3 separate regions of the Homo sapiens genome follow, and regions 1 and 3 are each linked to region 2. Evidence: promoter capture Hi-C in 16 types of primary human blood cells and fetal thymus (Javierre and others, 2016). All regions are on one chromosome and are shown on one strand. The core of a region is centred on a gene start or on the middle of the fragment in contact, and the rest is flanking DNA. Distances in the headings are between cores, read along the strand shown.

What was found. The method cuts DNA at HindIII sites, captures the fragments that hold promoters and counts their contacts. A CHiCAGO score of 5 or more calls a contact.
Region 1: a fragment that was not itself captured here is called in contact with the fragment with the promoter of TBC1D10B in region 2 in 1 of 17 cell types (neutrophils); the score reaches 5.1 in neutrophils.
Region 3: a fragment that was not itself captured here is called in contact with the fragment with the promoter of TBC1D10B in region 2 in 1 of 17 cell types (naive CD8 T cells); the score reaches 5.2 in naive CD8 T cells.

The regions. Positions count from the first base shown.
Region 1 is chr16:29,749,136-29,751,835 of GRCh38, reverse strand. LOC124903673 (a long non-coding RNA gene) reads right to left here. Exons shown (of 2, transcript XR_007065046.1): 2 at 2,194-2,700. Among named protein-coding and RNA genes, the nearest start is that of C16orf54, 4.5 kb to the right of the region's middle. The HindIII fragment of the contact is 2,817 bases long and covers 1-2,700 here.
Region 2 is chr16:30,369,214-30,371,913 of GRCh38, reverse strand. It overlaps TBC1D10B (TBC1 domain family member 10B), which reads left to right and starts at 1,420. Exons shown (of 9, transcript NM_015527.4): 1 at 1,420-2,686. The coding sequence starts at 1,731. It also overlaps a transcript of MYL11 not described here. RefSeq lists silencers at 1,535-1,824, 1,915-1,994. The HindIII fragment of the contact is 4,560 bases long and covers 1-2,700 here.
Region 3 is chr16:29,829,515-29,832,214 of GRCh38, reverse strand. MVP (major vault protein) reads right to left here. Exons shown (of 15, transcript NM_005115.5): 2 at 1,541-1,700; 3 at 1,142-1,337. The coding sequence starts at 1,665. Among named protein-coding and RNA genes, the nearest start is that of MVP, 10 kb to the right of the region's middle. The HindIII fragment of the contact is 3,992 bases long and covers 1-2,700 here.

The DNA.
Region 1 (2,700 bases), core at 134-2,633, 620 kb after region 2:
CACAGGCTATAAAAATGATTAACAGGGAAGTAACTTGAAATAATGACTATCCTTGCCTAATATCTCAGTTTTCATAAATAATCTAGGGAAACTGTTAAAAATAAAGTATGTAATGGATAATTTATTATAAATAAATTTTTCATGTAATTTTAAATCTTCTATTATGTTCTATTAAATTAACTATTATTCATTAGATGTGTGTATTATTTCCAAGTAAGAAGAAATAACTGAAACAAATTGCTGAACATAAATGTTTTTGGCTGGCTTCTTAAATTTTATAGAATGACTAAATATACTTGGTCTTTTTTTGTTGTTGAGACAGTGTCTTGCTTTGTTTCCCAGGCTGGAGTGTAGTGGTACACCCATAGCTCACTGCAGCCTTGAACTCCTGAGCTCAAGTGATCCTCCCCTCTCAGCCTCCCAAGTAACTAAGACTACAAGCACATGCCATCATGCCTGGCTAATTTTTTGATTTTTTGTAGAAATGGGAGTCTTGCTATGTTACCCAGGCTGGTCTCAAACTCTTGCCCTCAAGCAATCCTCCTGCTTCAGTCTCCCAAAATTGTGGGATTACAAACATGAGCCACCTTGCCTGGCCTTAAACTTTTTTTTTTTTTTTTTGAGACAGAGTCTCGCTCTGTTGTCCAGGGTGGAGTGCAGTGGCATGATCACAGCTTACTGCAACCTCTTCCTCCTGGGTTCAAGCAATTCTCCTGCCTCAGCCTCCTGAGTAGCTGGGATTACAGGCATGTGTCACCACGCCCAGCTAATTTTTTTTTTTTTCCCCAGACAGAGTCTTGCCCTGTCACCCAGGCTGGAGTGCAGTGGCATGATCCCGGCCCACTACAACCTCCACCTCCTGGGTTCAAGCGATTCTCCTGCCTCAGCCTCTCAAGTAGCTGGGACTACAGGCACCTGCCACCAAACCCGGCTAATTTTTGTATTTCTAGTAGAGACAGGGTTTCACCATGTTGGCCAAGTTGGTGTCGAACTCCTGACCTCATGATCCGCCTGCTTTGGCCTCCCAAAGTGCTGGAATTACAGGTGTGAGTCACCTCACCCGGCCTTTTTTGGTATGTTTAGTAGAGACGGGGTTTCGCCATGTTGGTCAGGCTGGCCTCAAACTCCCGACCTTAGGTGATCCACCTGTCTTGGCCTCCCAAAGTGCTGGGATTACAGGCATGAACCATTGTGTAGGGCCTAAACTTGTACGTGATGAAAGAATCAAAACAGCCAGTGATATCTTAGTAAGAAAAAACCATGTCTGATCTTTCCAGTTTTTAATAATGTTAACTCTTCTAAAAGTTTGTTTAAAAAGATTGATTAAAAGAGCACATACAAGTTTTCAGGTTTTGTTTATTTTGATTTTTTTTTTTTTTACAATAAATCATTGTTTGATTGTAGGGAAACACACATAACTGCCAGGCACGGTGGTACACACCTGTAATCCCAGCTACTTGGATGGCTGAAGCAGAAGAATATCTTGAACCCGGGAGGCGGAGGTTGCAGTGAGCCAAGATTGCGTCACCGCACTCCAGCCTGGGCAACAGAGACAGACTCCGTCTCAAAAGAAAAAAAGAAATACATAACATAAAATAACATCAAAGTTACTATCATTTTTCTATATTGACCTCTAGAACAGCCAGAAAGAACATCTTAGTTATTTTTAAGCGTGTTGTTCGCTGGCACTAACTTCAGGTTTGATTTTAAGGCTTGTAATCTGGTAAAATTCTAGCCTCCTCAGGTTTCTGCGAGTGTCCTGAGCCTTAGCTTCCCCCTGTAACTGCCAAAGGGGTTCACCTTGCCCGCTGCCTACACATAGCCGATTCATCAAGACAGCAAAATTGCAATAAAGAGTAATTCACACAGAGCCAGCTGTGCAGGAGACCGGAGTTTTTTTTTTTTTTTTTTTTTTTTTTTTGACGGTTTTGCTCTTTTTGCCCAGGCTGGAGTACAATGGTGCCACCTCGGCTCACTGCAACCTCCGCCTCCAGGGTTTAAGTGATTCTCCTGCCTCAGCCTCCTGAGTAGCTGGGATTACAGGCACTTGCCACCACACCTGGCTAATTTTGTATTTTTAGTAGAGACAGTGTTTTCTCCATGTTGGTCACGCTGGTCTCAAACTCCCAACCTAAGGTGATCCACCGGCCTTGGCCTCCCAAATTGCTGAAATTACAGGCGTGAGCCACTGTGTCCAGCCAGGAGTTTTATTATTACTCAAATCAGTCTCCCTGAGCATTCGGGAAACAGAGGGTTTTTTTGTTTGTTTTTGTTTTGTTTTTTTGAGATGGAGTCTTGCTCTGTCGCCCAGGCTTGAGGGCAGTGGCGCAATCTCGGCTCACTGCAAGCTCCGCCTCCCAGGTTCATGCCATTCTCCCGCCTCAGCCTCCCAAGTAGCTGGGAGTAGCTGGGACTAGCTGGGACTACAGGCATCCGCCAACACGCCTAATAAATTTTTTGTATTTTTAGTAGAGATGGGGTTTCACCGTGTTAGCCAGGATGGTCTCGATCTCCTTGTGTCCAGAATTGGCGGGTTCTTGGTCTCACTGACTTCAAGAATGAAGCTGCGGACCCTCACGGTGAGTGTTTCAGTTCTTAAAGGCGGCATGTCCGGAGTTTGTTCCTTCTGATGTTCGGACGTGTTCCGAGTTTCTTCCTTCTGGTGGGTTCGTGGTCTCGCTGGCCTCTGGCGTGAAGCTG
Region 2 (2,700 bases), core at 171-2,670:
CAGAGAAAGAAGAGGGCGTTTAGAAGTTGGAAGGTTGGAGCTCATAACGTCAGGTCTTTATGCTTGTGATCTAAGGACAACCTGGAGCGCTCATGAGATTGAGGTCGGGATTCTCAGTGGAACATGAGGAGCACAGAGGGATGTGGCAGTGAGGGGAGAGGGGTTGACGGGACTGGGGCCTTGGATCCCCAAAAGAATAGTAACACACATATGGGGAGTTCATGGTATTAGGGATTCATGGATTTGGGGTTTGAGATCCCCACTAGAAGAAATGGAGGGGGTACTCAGAGGGATAAGGTCTGAGGAACTGGAGCCTGGGTTCTGGGGAGGAGCTCAGATAGATGGGAACTGAGGAGAGGGACTTGGAGGTTGGGATTCCCGCAGGAAATGGGTGAAGCAGAGATATGGGTTGCTTATAGGATCTGGGGGCTCTGGCTATTGCCACCTGGGCCTGGAGTGTTGGGGTTAGTTGGGGGCCGAGATCGGAGAATTATAGAGTAAAGGATGAGAGTACTGGGTCAGGGCACTGGATCTGTGGTGGGGCTCAGGGTCCCACAGACCACCAGAGTGTGGGGCTCAGGAGCTGAACGAAGAATAGGGGACCGGAAAGGACTCGAGAGGGGGCAGCGCGGCACTCATTGGTTGAGGGCTGCACTAATGCCCCCGCCCCTTCTCCGTGCTGTCCCCAGCTGTCACCCTCCCATAAGGCTTGTCTCCGGTTGTCACCGACTATCCCTGGGCTGGCACCGCCTGCTGGCAGCATCTTTGCCCTTTGGATGCTCCCATTGGCTGAGACAGCTATCTATTTTCCTGTCCTGTGGCCAAAGTGGGAGAACACGATCATTGGCTGACGGGGCGAATTAATCTCTAGCTTGCCCCGCCTCCTCCCAGCTGTCATTCCTTACTGACCATTTTGGGAGACCTAAAGAATTCTTCAGCTCTTCCTATTGACTGCGGATGCTGTCTGTCACCGCCTAAATAGACATCACTGCCTGTCAATTTGACCTCCACCTGCTCCCCTTTTCATTGGCTCCCTTTTTACCATTCCTATTGGTTAAGAAGCCTCCAGGCCCCACCTCTTACTCGCACAGCCCTGCCTCCTCCTCCGCCCTTCCGCGGTCATTCACCCTTCAGTCATATTCATTGGCCAGGAGGTTCAGACCCCTGCGTTTCTATTGGTTATTTCTTTCGTCCCATCGCCCCCTGCCTTTCCTCGTCCTCTGATTGGTCTTACAGCCCTAGCTTTCTCCGTTTCCTCTTTCCAGATGACCCACCCCTTTTTCGCCTCCAGCCCCGCCCACGATTCCAACGATTGGCAGAAGCCCAGTTCTCTCTCTCCCACTATTCGTCCAAATCCTCTGACTAGGCGGGAGAAAAAAGGAGCGCGATGAGCCAGTCCGCGCGCAGGCGTGGAACGCCGAGACGCTGGCGCGGAGCCGGCTCTGCGGCGTGTGCGCAGGCGCGAGGTCGGCGGCTCGCCCCCAAGCAGGAGGGAGGGGGCGGTGGCGAGAGCGCGCGAGGGGGTGAGAGGGCTCGAGAGAGACCCCGGCGCGCGGCGCCCCCCGACCCCTGCCCCGCCTCTGCGCGCCCAGCGGCCGCTCCGCCCCCGGCGCGCGCCGAGCCGCGCCCTTCGCCCTCTCCCCTTTCTCGGCTGGCCTCGCCGGGAGGCCCGAGGGGCGGCGCCTTCTGCGGCCTCCCCGGCGGGGGGATGTGAGGGGCGGCCCGCGGCCATGGAGACGGGCACGGCGCCCCTGGTGGCCCCGCCGCGCCGTCATGGCGCCCCCGCGGCCCCCTCGCCGCCGCCCCGGGGTTCCCGGGCCGGGCCCGTCGTGGTGGTGGCTCCGGGACCTCCAGTGACTACGGCCACTTCGGCCCCCGTCACCCTGGTGGCCCCCGGGGAGGCGCGGCCCGCCTGGGTCCCGGGGTCGGCCGAGACCTCTGCTCCGGCCCCGGCCCCAGCCCCGGCCCCAGCCCCGGCTGTCACGGGCAGCACGGTGGTGGTGCTGACCCTGGAGGCCTCGCCCGAAGCCCCAAAGCCGCAGCTCCCCTCCGGCCCGGAATCCCCAGAGCCCGCGGCAGTGGCTGGAGTTGAGACATCGAGGGCTCTGGCCGCAGGGGCAGACTCGCCGAAGACAGAGGAGGCTCGACCCTCACCCGCCCCAGGACCAGGGACCCCCACCGGGACCCCTACCAGGACCCCTTCCAGAACGGCTCCTGGTGCCCTGACCGCCAAACCCCCGCTTGCCCCCAAGCCGGGAACCACAGTGGCCTCAGGAGTGACTGCACGGAGTGCATCAGGACAAGTGACAGGTGGGCATGGAGCTGCCGCAGCAACATCAGCATCAGCAGGACAGGCTCCTGAGGACCCCTCAGGCCCTGGCACAGGCCCCTCTGGGACTTGTGAGGCTCCGGTAGCTGTCGTGACCGTGACCCCAGCTCCGGAGCCTGCTGAAAACTCTCAAGACCTGGGCTCCACGTCCAGCCTGGGACCTGGCATCTCTGGGCCTCGAGGGCAGGCCCCGGACACGCTGAGTTACTTGGACTCCGTGAGCCTCATGTCTGGGACCTTGGAGTCCTTGGCGGATGATGTGAGCTCCATGGGCTCAGATTCAGAGATAAACGGGCTGGCCCTGCGCAAGACGGACAAGTATGGCTTCCTTGGGGGCAGCCAGTACTCGGGCAGCCTGTGAGTACCAGTGG
Region 3 (2,700 bases), core at 201-2,700, 540 kb after region 2:
ACACACACTTCTTCCCCCAAACTGTCTGCACCTAAGTGGACATGAATGTCTCTAAAAGTTCCCCATGTTCTGCTATTATGCTTTCAGGATCAAGCAGCACTGGTTAGTAAAGTCAGTAAGAAAACCATTAAATGGGGCTGGACACGGTGGCTCATGCCTGTAATCCCAGCACTTTGGGAGGCCGAGGCGGGCGGATCATGAGGTCAGGAGATCAAGACCATCCTGGCTAACACGGTGAAACCCCGTCTCTATTAAAAACAAACAAACAAACAAACAAAAAACCCAAAACCATTAAATGGCCAGAAGGTAAAGGTGGAAGAACAGGTAAAGGAATGAAGGTGGGACACCCACCTGCTCAGGCCCAGGCCTGAGGCCAACGGGGACAAGAGCCTGGCTGTAGGTTCAGGCCTGTGATGGCTTCTCCTAGAACAGGCACAGCCTGGGGCCTGGGCTTGTCACTGCTGCTTTGGCACTGCCCACCAGTGTCTGGCACCGGGTGAATGAACTGCTTAACCTTGGCACATGTCATTTAATGCCAGACTGGCTGGGCACTTCTGGTAGGCTCTGGAGCCTGGGAAGGTGAGATGGGCCAACAGTTCTCAGAAAAGAGGCAGGTGTGTTTGGGGCATGTGTGGAGGATGGGGGTGGCTGGAGGTGAGTGGAGGTACAGTGAGTCAATTCCACCCTTGGTGAGAGCCAGCAAGTGTCTCTCCCCACCCCTCCCACTGCCCTGGTTTGTTTTCCCTTTAGAACTCGGTACAGGCCGGGAACAGTGGCTCATGCCTGTAATCCCAGCACTTTGGGAGGCCGAGGCAGGTGGATCACCTGGGGTCGGGAGTTTGAGATCAGACTGGCCAACATGGTGAAACCCTGTCTCTACTAAAAATACAAAAATTAGCCGGGCGTGGTGGCGGGTGCCTGTAATCCCAGCTACTGAGGAAGCTGAGGCAGGAAAATCACTTGAACCCAGGTGGAGCTTCCAGTGAGCCGAGATTATGCCACTGCACTCCAGCCTGGGCGACAAGAGTGAAACTCTGCCTCAAAAAAGAAAAGAAAAAAAGAAGAAGAAGGCAGCAGTATAGAGCCCAAGGCAGGTGGAGGACAGGTAGGGTGGGGCATAGGGAGTGAGGAAACCAGGTACCTTTTCCAGCACCTCCCCTGGGTACAGGGGGAAGGGGTCCTGGGCCAGCCGGATCTCGAGGTCAGCGTGGCGAAGCCGAACTTGCCCTGTGACATCAAACAGCACCAAGCCCTGGGCATCCCGAGACACAGGGTTGGCCACTGTGCAGTAGTGACGTGGGGGGACGGTCACCATGCGCATGGGGGCAAACAGTACCCTGCAGGAAGATGAGAAGAGGTGTGAGGACCTGGGACCAGGTCTCCACTACCAAAGAGGACACCAAATGAGAGAGAAACCTCTCTATCGCCCAAGCGAGGGCCACTCCTGCTTGGGAAGAGGGAGGAGGATAAGGACCATCATGCCAGCCAAACAGGCCCCCACATCCCCAAGGATCCCCCACAGCCCAGCCCCCACACCCACCTCTCATTGTCCTGCCGGATGTAGGTCTTTGGCCCGACCTCCACACGGGACACGTTGCTGTTCTGGTCCAGCACATGGATATAGTGGTATGGGGGGATGCGGATGATGAACTCTTCAGTTGCCATGGTGACTCCTAAGCCCAGGGCTCACAAGAAGATGACTGGTAGGTGGGGGAGACGACACAGGATGAACCTGGGGAGCCTGGGGTGGGGCAGGCATGAATCTGGTGACAGACTCTGGGTGGGATACGGCCCTACCTCCTCCAGCCAGGCCACTGCACCCTTCCCTGTCCGCATCTGCATGCCCACTGCTCCCTGTCTTCACCCCACCCAAGACGACACAGCCCATCCTGACCTTACCTTTGCCAAGAACTGCTTGATGCAGTGAGCCACAGAGGCCCAGGGTTCCTTGCCAATTCCTTTCCCTCACTCCCATCAACTACTTCCCCCTACACTGCCACCGGCACTGCAAAGAGCTTCAGATCAAGGTGCTCCCAGTCTCTTACGGTGGAGAGATACAGCAAGCTGGGAAACTGGGGAGCCATGGAGGTGGTGACATGGCCTTGTCCAGCACGCAATGGGCAGCTGCTCTGAGGAGCTGCCTGGCTCCTCCAGAGGGAGGCAGCCCTTTATTTCAGAGAATCCTGAGGCCCCAGCTGTATTCAAATGTCAGCCCATAGCCAAAGAATATCTGTATGCCTCAGGTAGTCCAGTGGCTAGGATTCGGCCATAAACAAAAGGAATGTTTACATGAGCTGTGTCTATGTTCCCTGCCTCTTTCCTATGCTTTAGTAATCCTGGGCTGAATGTGAAGACCTAGTCCACTGCTCATAAAGGGATCCCAGATGGAACTGAGCCTTCCATAGAACCAGCTGCATTACTAACACTGCAAATCACTCTGGCCCCCTCGTCCCCAGTTCTCTCCCATCCTCAGCTCCTGCAGTTGTGAGCAAGGGTAGGGTGGAAAGGAAGGAGAAGGGGGATGATTATCATGTTCCACCCACCCATCCCACCTGCTTCTGAATCCTGAGTAGTTTCACCCAGTGCTTGGCCTGTTCAGGAATGTCACATGCCCTACCTAAGCCCCACCCCTGCCCCCAGCACTTTGGACTTTGGACATGTCCCTTTGAGTCACACAAATGGGACCAAGTTTACTAGGTG